Linked DNA regions of Homo sapiens: region 1 is linked to region 2. The links are contacts of gene promoters, found by promoter capture Hi-C in human tissues and cell types (Jung and others, 2019). All regions are on one chromosome and are shown on one strand. Each heading gives the region's core, a stretch centred on a gene start or on the middle of the fragment in contact. The rest is flanking DNA. Distances are from core to core; before and after follow the strand shown.

Region 1 (7,013 bases), core at 4,462-6,961, 540 kb before region 2:
CATTGGTAAGCCCAGGCGAGGGGTGAACTTCCTTTCCCCGGGGCCGACGCGGAGGGAGGGTGCGGGGAACGCCCGCCGAGGGGCCTGTCCTGCGGTACCCCAGTGGAGAGCAGAGCCTTAGAGGGGCCTGCTAGTCTTAGTATTTATTGGCAGAAGAAAGGCTTATTTTTTCAGATCTCTTGAGATACGACCTGGCAGGCACCAGACGTAAATCTGTGGTTGAGTGCAGTCAGCTCTTAAACGGGCATGCGGTGGATGAAGCGCCCCAAACTTCGCATCTTGCGTCTGGCACTTTGTTTTTGGGCTAAACTGCCTCTGGCCTCTTCAACCTCCTGTGCCTCTTTCTGCTTTTGTTTGTTTGTTTCTATTTTCTTCCTCGTTGAGAAAGGACAGTGGTTTTAGAAATAATGATCTGAGAGCTTTGCAGGTTGAAGTGGGACAAGTTTTCCTAAGGTTCAGGTTGGCAGTTGCCAGGAGCCTGCAGGTGGCTTTTTCTCAGGCCTCTGGGTCAGGGTCCCTCCAGTGAGGTGAGGCAGGGGTTTCTCCCCTCCCAGAGGTGTGGCCACTACGCAGGGGGACAGGAACTGGGTTTCCCAGTCCGGGGAGTCCAGGATGCCCTGCACTCTGCGCTGATTCCTGGGTGACCGTGGGGGCTGCCTCCCCCTTCAGCCTGGGCTGGAGAGGGTCTCCTGAGCTTAGGAACTGCGGGGCAGGAGGGCTGGGGTGTTAAGGACACGTGGAACTTGCTGGGGCTCCGGGCAGTGTCCAGGGCGTGAGCAGATAAAGCTGGACCTTGCAGCTGTGTGCCGGCAGCCCTCGGTGGGCTCTAGCAGTACTGTTGGGGGGCCCTTGGAGTGGGCTCCCTGGCTGGGCTGGGACTGGGTGATGGCAGTAGCAATGGGGCACCAAGTCTTCCCTCTCATTTGTTAGGAAGTGCGGTCTGTGCCCGTCCCCACTGTCTGGCTCTTGGGCTGGGAGAAGCTGCAGGCTGAGTCCCACGGAGTGTGAGTGTGTGTGAGCAGGAGTGGGTGCTGGAAGGAGGTAAAGCTGGTGACCGTCAGCTCCTCATTCTCTTCCACCTTGCATGTTTTCTCTGACACCCCAGACCCAAGTTGTGGCCTGCTGGTTAACTTGTTTACATAACCTTCTTAAGTAGCTCTAACCTTTAAAAAAAAAAAAATCAAAATGTTAGTTTCACAGGAATAATTGGTGGGGATGGATTGTGAAATGGAGCTGCATAAATATCCAGTTTGCCAACTGAGCTAAGAAATGCTGGATAAAAGTAAAAGGTAATTGTAAAAGACACTGATCACACCCCTGGAAGCTTAGAGATGGGATAAGACACCTTGATTTTTCCCAGACAAAACTGAGGAAGTCAGAGGAAAAACAGTTGATAGTGAGGTTGGCATAAGGCTGGGCTTTGTTTGGATTGGGCCGCGGTGGCTGCAGTGAGGGCTGTTGGAGTGGGGAGAGTGGGGGTTGAACCTGGCTGAAGAGGCCCCCTCCAGGCCTCAGCTCCTCTCCGGCACTCCTCGCTGTCCTCTGCCACGCATACCTGCCCCAGTGACTTAACAGGTGTGGGCCTCAGGTGACACCATGGTCTGAAGTCTTGGAGAAACCTTTACTGTCCAGGGGAGGACAGGACTGGCGGTCGGTGGGGATCGAGGCCCTGCACACATCACTGGGTGGCTTCAATGTCTTCGGCAGAGATCACATGCCCTGCGTTTCAGCCTGGTCCTTAGAGAAACGGAGAGAGCTCTGGGCCTGGGTGGCGGCCCTGGCTGTACCACTCACAGGCTGTGTGTCCTCAACCCAGTCTCAGTTCCTCACCCTTGCCAGGTGGCCGTGAGGACTAGGAACATGGAGACACAGGTAGGGTGTAAGGTAGCCACTGATGACCAGGCAGGCCTCTGCAGTGTAGGTCAAGTTTGAGATGGTTGCTCACCAGGAGGCAGCCTGTGTGCCTGGCAGGGGCTGGGGGTGCTCAATGTTCCCTTGGATGGTGGTTGGCCTGAGCGCCCACAGAGAGGCTTCTCCGGCTCTTTCCTTTCCCAGAGTTCCTCCCCACCCCTCTGCTGCCCACCGCCTGGGTTGGGTCCAGCTCATGTCTCAGAGCAGCCTGCTGGCACAGGCTGAGTCAGCTGTCATGGGCACTGTCGCTTCTCGCCTCTCCTGAAGCCAATCCTCCCCTCTCTCCCTGTCCAGACACACAAGGGAGGCCCGGGAGTTAGGTGACCTCAAGGTCGTGCAGCCAGGCTCTCTCTGGAACCCTGCGTACTGGTGGGGTGCCATTGCTGTGTGCTTTATGATTTCTGTGCCGGCTGTGAGGTTTCCCAGGTTGGGCTGTGCAAGTTGGCCCAGGCCCAATGGTGACACACCATTGCCCAGGCCTTCAGTGGCTTTCCAGTGCTCCCTCCACATCCATGTGTCTCGGCCTGATTTTTCTCAAATTCTCCCACTCGCTCCCAAGAATGGTCCCTCCAGGCTCTCCTGGCTCCAGGCAGACAGGCTCATTGCCCAGATCTGCCCTGGGTTGTCCCCACCCCATCCCCACCTGTCATCTTGGCCCATGTCCATCCCGGAGATCCTAACTGAATGTAGGCTCTTTCGTCTTATCCCTTGGTCCTCGGATTTGCCAGGCCACTCTTGCCTCCAGGCCTTTGCACCTGCTGTTCCCACCCCCTTGGCATCAGCCACCCCCAGATGCCCACCTGGCCAGCCCCTCACCTATTGCCGGCTCCCTGATGGCCCTGCATAAATTAGCGTTACTTCCCCTTCTCTTGTTAACCTTGCTTTGTGTTTCTCCTTAGTACTCAACATTCAGTGTGTTATTTATGTACTTGTTTGTTTATTGTCAGTCTCTTATCACTCAAATGTAAAAGACTTTGTTCACCTCTGGATCCCCAGTAGCTAGAAAAGTGCCTGGCACACAGCAGAGCCTTAGTGCTGTTGTTGGATGAGTGAGTGAATGAAACACGGGAGCAGTAGTCTCCTTGCAGCACATGTCCTGCTCCCTGTGCCTCCTTTTCCCGAGTCCCAGAGCTGGAACCCAGCTGTGTTCACCTTTGGATCCTCCTAGAATGTAGCACAGACCCTTACTCAGTGGGCAGTCAGGAAAGAGCTGCAGAGTTGTACTGTGCAACGTCAGTTTCACATAGGCCAGAGGAGAACGTGTTTGGGAAGGTAACCAGCCCAAAGAATGAGCTTTCTTATTGTGCACTGAGATTCCTTTTTGGATTTTCAGTTGTTTGGGTTCTCTGCACCCAGGTGGTCCCTGCTGCCAAAGTCAGCGCTGCGTCTCCCTGCAGTCACCTCGGATGTGGATGCACTTTGGAAGGAGGCACCCCCACGCCCAGATTCCCTTCCCACTCCATCTGGATCTTTCCAAACTTGTCTTGTACCTAATGTCAGACTCTGTTCCAGGGCTCTCAGCCACTCTGCTTTCCCTTCCAGAAGCCTCCTCCTGCTTGACTCTCTCCTGCGTGTGTCCTGGCCTGGTTGGAGAAGATGCTTTGGTTTTATGAGAAAGGGACTGGGAGGTCAGAAAAGAGGATGGGATTTGGAGTAACAGGAGCTCAGTTCCAGCCTGGCCCTGCCACTAAACCCTGGGGTCCAGGGCCAGTCTTCTGGCTTGAGAGTCTTTCTCAGCATCTGCAATGTGCGCATGAGGCCTCTTGCCTGTGGTTGTTTTGAGGCACAGACGAGATGCGATATTGAACTGATGCGAGATATTTTATGATAGCAAGGACTCCATGGTGTGGCTTCTCTTATTGTCCTGGGAGTTTTAAGGGTCAGGTTTGTGAGTTACAGCTACGGCCTAGTGAGAGAATGCAGAGGAGGCCTGTCATAAACTCTAAAGGGCTGTTTTAATGTAAGGTGGTGCATCTGTTGTTTTGTGTTTCAAGGATCAAAATTAAGAGAAAAAAATATGTGGTTGAGATACCTGCGTTGAGTGACTGTGGAAATATTTTCATCTCTAGTTGTCTGGAAACGGAAACACTCCAACATTTAAAGATGGTTTTCATGGCGAAACCACTGGAATGAAACACGCATCATCGGGCAATTCTGTGTGTTGAGTTCCATCCCTCTTTGTTTGTCATTTTAAATAATTTCCCTACAAATCCAGAAGGCAGGTCTTGTCTTAACTTCGCGACGAGGAGGCTGGGGACAGGTAGCTGAGCTATGGGTTGCCTAAGAGCACTCTGCTGTGACGGGGCAGTGCTGGCCTTTGAGCCTGAGCTGGAGAGAGTGTGAGGCCCATGTTTTCTCTCTGTCTCCTGCTGGGGCCCATTTTGTATCAGATTTGTTTTTAACGGGGTGGGCATGACTAGGACTTATGACCATTGGTGGGCAAGTACAGGGGCTAATTTTCAACACGTGCTGAGAGACTGATGGCTGGCATCGGAGAGTTATGGAAATGCCACAGATGACGTGAGCTCTTCACAGCGATGGGGAAAGGGCGTGGGAGCTTGCCCTCCAGGAAGGTGGCTAACATGGTTGGTGGGACACTAAGGTGTTTTCCATTTTGCACTTGAAGCCAACATGGATTCTTAGCACTTCTTGTCCCTAGAATCAACTGTGCAGAGAGACGCTTGGTTGTGAAACTCTCAGGCAAAGACAGTTCTGAGGAAACTTACTAGTAAATAGTGAGTCAGAGAACACTACTGACATTTAGGATTTTCAGTTGAGATACATATGTACTGTCATGCATCACATGACATTGTTTTTGTGAGTGATAGCGTATATGACAGAGGTCCCATAAGAATATCATGGGGCTCAAAAATTCCTATTGCCTAGTGACATTGTCGTAAAGTTGTAGTGCAGTTACTTTATTTTTTAAAAAAATGTAGCCTAACTGTACAATGTTTATAAAGTCTGCACTAGTGTACAGACTGACTCACCGGAGCAACTTCCATTCATGGAAGGTCCATTCATAGAAAGTGCCCTAGACAGGGGCACCATGTTTTATCTTTTATAGCATATTTTAACTTTGTGCCTTTTCTATGTTTAGATACACACCTTCAGCACAGTAACATGCTGCCTAGGTTTGCAGCCTAGGAGCAGTAGGCTGTACCCTATAACCTAGTGTGTTGTAGTAGGTTTGTATAATGTATGCTCTATGATGTTCTCATAATGATGAAATTGCCTAATGATAAATTTCTCAGAATACATCCCTGTCATTAAGTGACGCATCTGTGTGTGTGTGTGTGTGTGTGTGTGTGTGTGTGTGTGTGTGTGTGTGTGTGTATGATATATAATTTTTTTCATTTGGTTGGTTTGGCATTCCTGGAATTGATTCTCCAGCAAGGCAGCTCTAAATATGGATTCCTCTGAACTGTTGTATGTGTTCTTAATTTAATAAACAAGTATCGTTTATGGTTTCCCGCAGTTGGTTTGATTATCAGCTGTCTTGGAAAAATCTATTGTTTCAAAAATAGTAAAGCCACTAGTTGAGTAACCGCATGCATTTAGGGATGATGGATTTCTCAGGTCTCTCTGGAAGCAAGTGTGTGCATTGTGCAATTAAAACACAGTTTCTGTTTCTCAGTCTTTTGGTGTAATAAGTGAGCCATGTGCTCTAGCATCTGTCTGAATTATCCGGAGCTGGTGGCAGCTGTCACGGGTGTGGTGCAGTGGGGCCAGGCATGTGTTAGGAACTGGAAGCTCTGGGAAGCCAGGCTCTGCCTGCACGTGTGAGCCAGCTGTAGAGCGTCACTGCTCAGAGTTTGTCTTGACTCATCCCAAGAAGGGCACGTGGAGGTCTGTGTCCCATTCCTCACCAGCCACTGAGTTATTATGGATGGAGGAGATGAGATGTGTGCAACTGTTCTGCTACAGGAAAGCAGTCAGTCAGTGCAGTCACCAGGGTTAGGATGTGTGAGTGTTTTACCAACCTGCCTGCTGGGTTTCAGACACTTGGCACTACCTCCAGCCTCTAACTGATTCTGGCTGGTACGCGTGAAAGCTGTCAGCTGAGTGATGAATGGACCGATTTTGGCCACAGGTCCCTGCACTTCCCACCTGGCCTGACTGCTAGATTCTGAGCCCCTGAGGCAGGACTGAATGGGTCACATTGATGGTTGATTCTCTCGGGAATGGCATTGGGTGAAATCGAGGTTTTCCTGACCCACAGCTCCTACTAGAAGTGCCTTTCTTTTGTGCATGTATTGTGAAGATTCTGCCTGTGAACTTTCTCTACCCTTTGAGTCCTAAGGTTCAGGTACCTGGAGAGGAGCATGTCATCGTTTTGCAGGTGGGATGTGTGGTTGTTGGGGAAGACGTCTTTGTGCTGTGTTGGGTTGGAAGCTTTGAGAGCAGAAGCCCCTCCAGACCAAGAACTCCTGATTGTGTCTTTCCCTTGGGCTTTCGCAGTTTTCAGCTTCTAAATTAATTGCATTTTATTAAGTAATGGTTTTCTTCTTGATCACAGGCGTGCCTGTGCTTAATCAGCACTGAGGACTGGTGCTACTTCAGTTGATTTGATACACCTAGAGGCAGCCTCATCTCCAACTTGTCTTGACTTCATTTGGGGAGCTGCCGTGGGGGACCCCTGGACTGGCAGCATTCCCACCCCTCACTTTGGCAACCCTGGCCTAACTCCTTGTATGTGTTGCTCCTTTTATCCATCACATAGGGTGGCTTAATCTAATAGTGGAAACAAAGGGGTGCGGGACGCTAACCTGGTAGGTCTCACCTTGCCCGTCCCGTCATTCACCTCTCAGTCCTTTGACACTCAGGGACTCTGCAGTGGTACAACCGGGAGCAGGTACCCTTCACTTTTCTTACCCCCGAGTCCCTTTGCCTGGAGCACTGTCCATCTATCCACCCATGCACTCAGTAGGTATTTTCCAAGCAGCTACTATATTCCAGCTTTCTTGTTCCCAGTTTAGAGCTGGGTGGGATCAGGAGGGAGGGCATGGAAGGGGTTGCTGGAGAATGTGCAATGGCATCAGAGCCCCATTCTGGCTCTGGGTCCAAGGCCCTCCTAGAGAGGCACAATCTGGAAGATGTGA
Region 2 (6,735 bases), core at 395-2,894:
ACCTCCTGGGCTCAAATGATTCTCTATCTTAGCCTCCCAAGTAGTGGGACTATAGGCATATACCACCATGCCCAGCTAATTTTTGTAGAAATGGGGTTTCACCATGTTGCCCAGGCTGATCTTGAACTCATGTCTCAGGCAATCCACCCGCCACAGCCTCCCAAAATGCTGGGATTACAGGCACGAACCACACACCTGGCCTGTAACTGTGTAATCTTGGAAGTTACTTAACATCTGTTTTAGATTCCTGATCTGTAAAATGGAGACAACACTAGCTTACCTCGTAGGCCAGCTATTAGTCCCAAATGAAGTGATATGAGAAGTATGTAGAATAGTGTTTGGTGCATATAAGTGCTCTACAAGTGTTACTATTTTTAAGACTGTTTCTCTGGAGTTGACAATCCTTCAATAGTTCCCCCTGTCTGGAAGGCGCCCCTACTCCCATTTACCAACCAGGCAAACTCCTACTCAACCATTAGGCTTTAGCTCAGGGGTCTATTTCTCATGAAGCCTTGGGTAACCCGTTTAAATATAATTTAACTTTTCTTCTTTGGACCTTGATCTTGAATCTCTCACTGCACTCAGCAACACGGTACTGTAATCATCTATTCACACGACTAGATTATCTTCCTTGTGGGCAGTGAGCTACTTGAGGGCAGGGGCAAGGTTTTTTTTTTGTTTTTGTTTTTAATTTCAGGACATAGCACTGTGCCTGATGCAGAGTAGGCAATTAGAAGCAATGAAAAGTATTAACTATGTATGGATATAGGAAAGAACCAGAAAGTACTGAGGGGGAAGAAAACACTTATTCTGCTAGGCTGACATTTTAGCCCTTGCTTTCATTATTTTCAGGTGGTTTCAGTCCCAAGTTAAAAACTGCTTTCATGCATCTGTGTAACCAACTGTTCCCCTTCCTGTTTTCTCCTTGGTTGAAAGAAGGGACTGGAGTGAGACCGCCTTAGAATGCCAGTTCCACCACTACCTAGTTATTCACTTTAGTCAAGTTTTTTTTAACCTTTCCAAGGCTGTTACCTCACTGCAGAATAAGGATGACAGTCATCCCTACCTCATAGAGCTGTTATGAGAATGAAATACTCATGTGCTCAATAAATGTCAGCTGTAGTAGTCATTTCTACAGAAATTCTGCTGAGGACTTTGACGCCCTTTCTAGCCATCTCCCAGTTTCGCACTGTTCTCTCTCCCACGTGCTGCAGTCCACCTCTCACCAGACACAAACTCTTGTCTTTACATCCACACCTCCTGAACCCTGACTTCGGTATAGTTTTAAAATGATACACATTCGTTGCTGAAAATTAGATTAAACGGAGGAAAAAAAATTAACTCACTTCAAATCTCAGCAGTTAACCACTAACATTTTAGTATGTATTTGTTTAGACCTTTTCTTATGCAAATACATACGTTTAAACTTTTTTTTTCCGAGAGTTCACATCATACAAATTTTATTTTATGACTCGTCCTTGCACTTAGCACGGTCTCTCCCCCAACCTATCTCTGATGCCTTGAGAATCCCCCCGCCCCGCTGCAGACCCCCACCACTTCCAGCTCCCAGCGGTCCGGCCTTCCCGCGGTCCCGGTTCCGGCCCCACCTGCGGGACGCCGGCCGCCCCGCCCCGCCCCGCTCCGCTGCGGCCGGCCTCGATCCCTAGCCCCGCACCCCGCGCCTCGCTGCTACCGGGCGCCTTTCGCTCGCGGCTCCTCCGTGCGGCCCGCTTCCGGTGGGGCCAGGGCGTCTCCGCCGCAGCTCGGCTCCCGCGCGCTCAGCACCGCCAGCGGCGGCCAGATGCAGGCGGAGCGAGGAGCTCGGGGAGGCCGTGGGCGGCGGCCAGGCCGCGGCCGGCCTGGCGGAGATCGCCACAGCGAGCGGCCCGGAGCCGCAGCGGCGGTAGCCAGAGGCGGCGGCGGAGGCGGCGGCGGGGACGGAGGCGGACGCCGGGGCCGTGGCCGTGGCCGGGGCTTCCGCGGCGCTCGCGGAGGCCGAGGAGGAGGAGGCGCCCCGCGAGGCAGCCGCCGGGAGCCGGGAGGCTGGGGCGCAGGGGCCAGCGCGCCGGTAAGAGGCGACGGCTGGTGGGGCTGGGACCGCGTGTAACTGGGGCAAGTGGGGCCGAGGCCGCCAGTCAAGAGCCGCAAGAGAGCGTGCCAGGCGCGCGCCAGACGGGCGGCGGCGCCGGCGCCTGCGCGGGACGGGCGGATGGTGGCGCGGGGGCGCGCCTGGTGGCGGGGGCGCGCCTGGGTATGCGCTTGGCCCTCGTGGCCTCCTGGCCGGGCTGGCGCGAGACAGTGGGGGTAGGAGGGCTTCCCAGCCTGCCCCAGGGTCCGGGTTAGGAACCCAGAGGCCAAGGCCGTGTGTCAGGGCTGCAAGTCTCGGCGGCCCGTGGGCCGGCTGGGCTGTCTGTACGAGTACCACTATGGGACGGAGGCGCGGCCACGACGTGGTCCCTCGGCAGCCTTTACGGGCACGCTCCTGTTATTAGGAGGGAAAGGATTTTTTGGTCTGTTTTGTTAACTGTCTGTGCAATGCCTAGTACACAGTAGGCGCATAATAAAAAGTTTGTTGAGTGAAAGAATGACCCCTACGACTGGACTCTAGTATTTGGGGGCGGGACCAGATGCATAGTTCTTTGTAATAGCGTAGTTCTCTTTTATTATGCCTGTATGTGTAGAAATCAGCGAGCACTGGGCTTTGTCGTTTTGAATTTTCAATTTATAAATGAGCAGTCAAGTTCTGAGTTTTAATAGCAATATCATCAGTCTTATTGACACATTCATAGAAGGAAGTTTTTGGAGATTGGAGCAGGGGATGATATATATGGGGGCAAAGCTAACCATATCTCAGCTAAAGGAGTTAGAGGACTGTCTTTTTATGAGTTGTTCTGTTACCTTAACATCTGTAGGACAAGACCATCTTTATATTCTGCATTCTTATGCACACTGATTTAAAAAATTCTTTTTTGCATGAGGCAAAATTTGCTCTTACTGAAGTATTTACAATATCTTGAGGGCATAGCAGATAAGATATCCCTAAAGAGAGTAGTTGTATACAGCAATACAGAGCTGGAAAAAAAAGTATAAAACTTAAATTTAAATGTAACAAACTTAAATCTTGTTAGGATTAAGATAGGTAATAGGCAAAACTTGAATGAGATATAAAAACATTTTTAGGGTCAGTTTACCTCGTGTAAACTGACAGAAACTAAGGTAAATGACAGAAACTAAGACCAACCTAGTGCCCACTATATATCACATTTTGTTCTTATAACTCTATTATATATATATAATATATATGTAATGTAGAATTATGTAATATAATAGTATGTAATTATATATTAACTACAATGTTATATATTATTTATATATCCATATATAGAGAGTAATCTTTATTTTTACAGGTTAACTGACTTGCCTAAGCTTTCACAGCTAGTGGCAGAGCTGGGATTTATATCAAGCTGCCCTTGAGTCAACAGTATTTTATCTCTTACTTTTTCGTGAACCAGTTACCACTTTATTGAGAACAAAGTAGATATTCCTTAGCTGCAGGGATCGTGCTTTAAGAGTAATTGTAGTAATGGTACATTTGGTGTTAACTATGGTGTCTGGCGCACAGGACTTTACTAATAAGTGTCTTTAAGTTGAATTGAGTGAGTGAAGGTGCTTCTGTTTTGTTAATCTCTGTTGAATTAAATTGGGTGAAATGATGGTATATATTTTTTTTTTTTTTTTGAGACGGAGTTTTACTCTTGTTGCCCAGGCTGGAGTGCAATGGCATGATCTTGGCTTGCTGCAACCTCCGCCTCCCGGGTTCAAGTGATTCTCCTGCCTCAGCCTCCCAAGTAGCTGGGATTACAGGCATGAGCCACCTTGCCCGGCTAATTTTGTATTTTTAATAGAGATGGGGTTTCACCATGTTGGTCAGGCTGGTCTCGAACTCCTGACCTCAGGTGATCCACCCGCCTCGGCCTCCCAAGGTGCTGGGATATGGATTACAGGTGTGACCCACTGCGCCTGGTCATGATGGTATATCATTAAAAGAAAGAATAATACAAGACTTTAAAAAATTTAAGATAGTATTGTAACACATTCTGTTAAAATTTTAGGCTTTTTCTTTTGTCGAGTTGGTCTTATCCCTTCATCATCATGTTTTCAGCCAAAGCTGGAGGGAGGGATGTTGGGCAGATTGTTCCTTAATTTTGGTTTGGATTGGTCATCTCTAAGTTCCTTCCATTTCTCAGATTCTGAAGTACTGTTTGTATTTAGTCTTGCTAGGACACCATTTTTGGTGCTTAACCATTACATGAGACAAGATTGATTGACTTTCCTGAAGCCTTCTTGTTCTCATATCCCATGGTGCATTTGTGCCCCAAGGAGAGAGTAACCGAAATGATCAAAGGAAAAAAAAATCATAATAGACTCCTAGCCATGTAAAGACCAGTTGTCCACCTTCAGAAACCAATTTTGTGTACACCTTTGCTTTCTATTTTGGACCACTGCATACAAATGGAAAACAAAATCAATCTAACCAACTTCTACATAGCTATGTAATACTCCAGGGTAACTTAGTTGAGTACTAAGTTGAGTACATCTCTTAGTCTCTTGCTCTTAAATCATTCCTTCTGTAAATGGTCTGAGCTCTAAGCTTACTGATTATGGGTGAGCATAATTATCTTCACGGAATACTCACTAGAAGCATTATTGTACTAGATACAATCATTAACTTTAAAAAAAAAACACAAAACTGGCTGGGTGTGGTGGCTCGCGCTTGTAATCCCAGCACTTTGGGAGGCTGAGGTGGGTGGGTCACTTGAGTCTGGGAGTTCGAGACCAGACTGGGCAACATAACGAGACCCCCTCTCTATAAAAAAAATACAAAACTGCCGAGCATGGCGGGGTGCATCTGTAGTCCCTGCTACAAGGGAGGCTGAAGCAGCCGGATTGTTTTGAGCCCCGGAGGTGGAGGCTGCAGTGAGCTGTGATCCTGCCACTGCACTCCAGCCTGGGCAATAGAGTGAGACTCTGTCTCAAATAACTAACTTACTAACTAAATGAATAAATAATCCCCCTATCACTGCCCCCAATACTAGGATTGTTTAGTATTTATCTTTGTGATGGGCTGTTAGCAGAGAGGAAGACAAGGCCAGCTGGTAGTCTTTGGAATTTTTTTTCTTTTTTCCTTCCTCTAGTAATAACAGTAATTCACATTTGTCGAGTACTTAATATAAGATGAGACAGCTGAGGCACCGTTAAATAACTCACAGTTAGGAGAGGTGAAATAACTTTTTAATATCACTCAACCAGAAAATTGCTGAGCCTGGATTCCACCCCAGCATTTTCACTCCAGAGCCTGTTCTTTCGACTGCTGCTCTAAACTGCTCCTGGAATGACTTTGAGATTTGAAAAAGGGGTGTGTGGAGGACTGTTGAGTGATTCTTTCACATGCCTGATTATTTTTTTAACTGATATGTTAGTATGGTTATAAGGTTTTAAGGTAACATTGGTACCATCTTCAGTTATTGTGGGTGTTACCAGACCTTTGCTTTCTTGCTCCATGTTTATATTGCAGCTTTTCATATTCCTTTTAAAATGATTTATATTCAATAAAAGATGAGACAGCTGTTTATAGTTGTACTAAAAAGTAGAATCTGGAGGCATTTAATTCTGATCAAACTTTTGCTTTGTAAACAAAGCCTGAGTAGTAATTAATACCCGATGGCGTTGACATTTTCATTTCACTGGGTAAAAAGGAAATCTCTAATTTTCTATTCAAGTTTAGTGTGAACCTGGAGGGAAGAAATGGTGTCAGATCAGTTACAGGCAGGTGTCTAAGGACTTGCTCCTTCATTGTTGCTCAGAGTAGCCACCAGCCGCTTGTCAGCCAGCTAGAGACTGAGAGCCTGTTAAAAGCTCAAACTGAAATGACAGCCTCTAGACTTTATTTTCCTTTTTTTCCAGAAAGCCTGAAGCAAATTTGGTTAGAAACTGAATGTGCTTAAGTGTCCCAACAGAAGATTGCTTTAAGATTAGTTCTTGGTAATCCATGAAATTGACCTCTCCTCCTGCTGCAAACCATTGCACACACACTGTAATTATTTTGGCATCCTTATCCTTGTTAACATATTCTGTTTTTAAGTTGCTTTTCTCACTGACCACTATTTCACTTACATATTTTCAATATCAACACAGACAACTGAACTTTTTTGCTTGTATTCTGCCTAAAAAAATTTTGGGAAACCATGTACAATGTACTTTAAAGTTTATATCTAACATTTTTATCAATGGATCAGAGAATTTCAAAATATAAAATTTCCAACATATTGTATATATTGACTTTTTAAATAAAAACACAATTTTTATAAATTGATTTTTTCTTTTCCTTTTTTTTTTTTTTTAAAAAAGAAACTGGGTCTCACTTTGTTGCTCACGCTGGAGTGCAGTAGTGTGAGCAAAGCTCACTGCTGCCTTCAACTGCTGTACTCAAGGGATCCTCCCATCTCAGCCTCCTGAGTAGGTGGGAGTACAGGCGTGAACCACCATACCCAACTAATATTTTTATATTTTGTAGACATGGTCTCACTGTCTTGCCCAGGCTGGTCTCAAACTCCTGGGCTCAAGCAGTCCTCCCGCCTCAGCCACCCAAAGTGCTGGGGTTACAGATGTGAGTCACCACACTTGGCTCTGGATGGATTTTAAATACTAGAGTGATTTGATATTTGCCTTTAGCCA

Evidence for each region. The method cuts DNA at HindIII sites, captures the fragments that hold promoters and counts their contacts. A contact is called where the count stands out against the background at its distance.
Region 1: a contact is called between a fragment that was not itself captured here and the fragment with the promoter of AVEN in region 2, in 2 of the 25 tissues and cell types used here (lymphoblastoid cells and spleen).

Annotation. Positions count from the first base shown.
Region 1 is chr15:34,575,742-34,582,754 of GRCh38, reverse strand. All of the region lies in intron 1 of GOLGA8B (golgin A8 family member B), which reads left to right. Among named protein-coding and RNA genes, the nearest start is that of GOLGA8B, 4.4 kb to the left of the region's middle. The HindIII fragment of the contact is 3,792 bases long and covers 3,816-7,013 here.
Region 2 is chr15:34,034,113-34,040,847 of GRCh38, reverse strand. It overlaps AVEN (apoptosis and caspase activation inhibitor), which reads left to right and starts at 1,644. Exons shown (of 6, transcript NM_020371.3): 1 at 1,644-2,068. The coding sequence starts at 1,802. All of the region lies in intron 1 of CHRM5 (cholinergic receptor muscarinic 5), which reads right to left. RefSeq lists silencers at 1,552-1,721, 1,902-2,111, 2,202-2,261, 2,612-2,671. The HindIII fragment of the contact is 11,161 bases long and covers 1-4,039 here.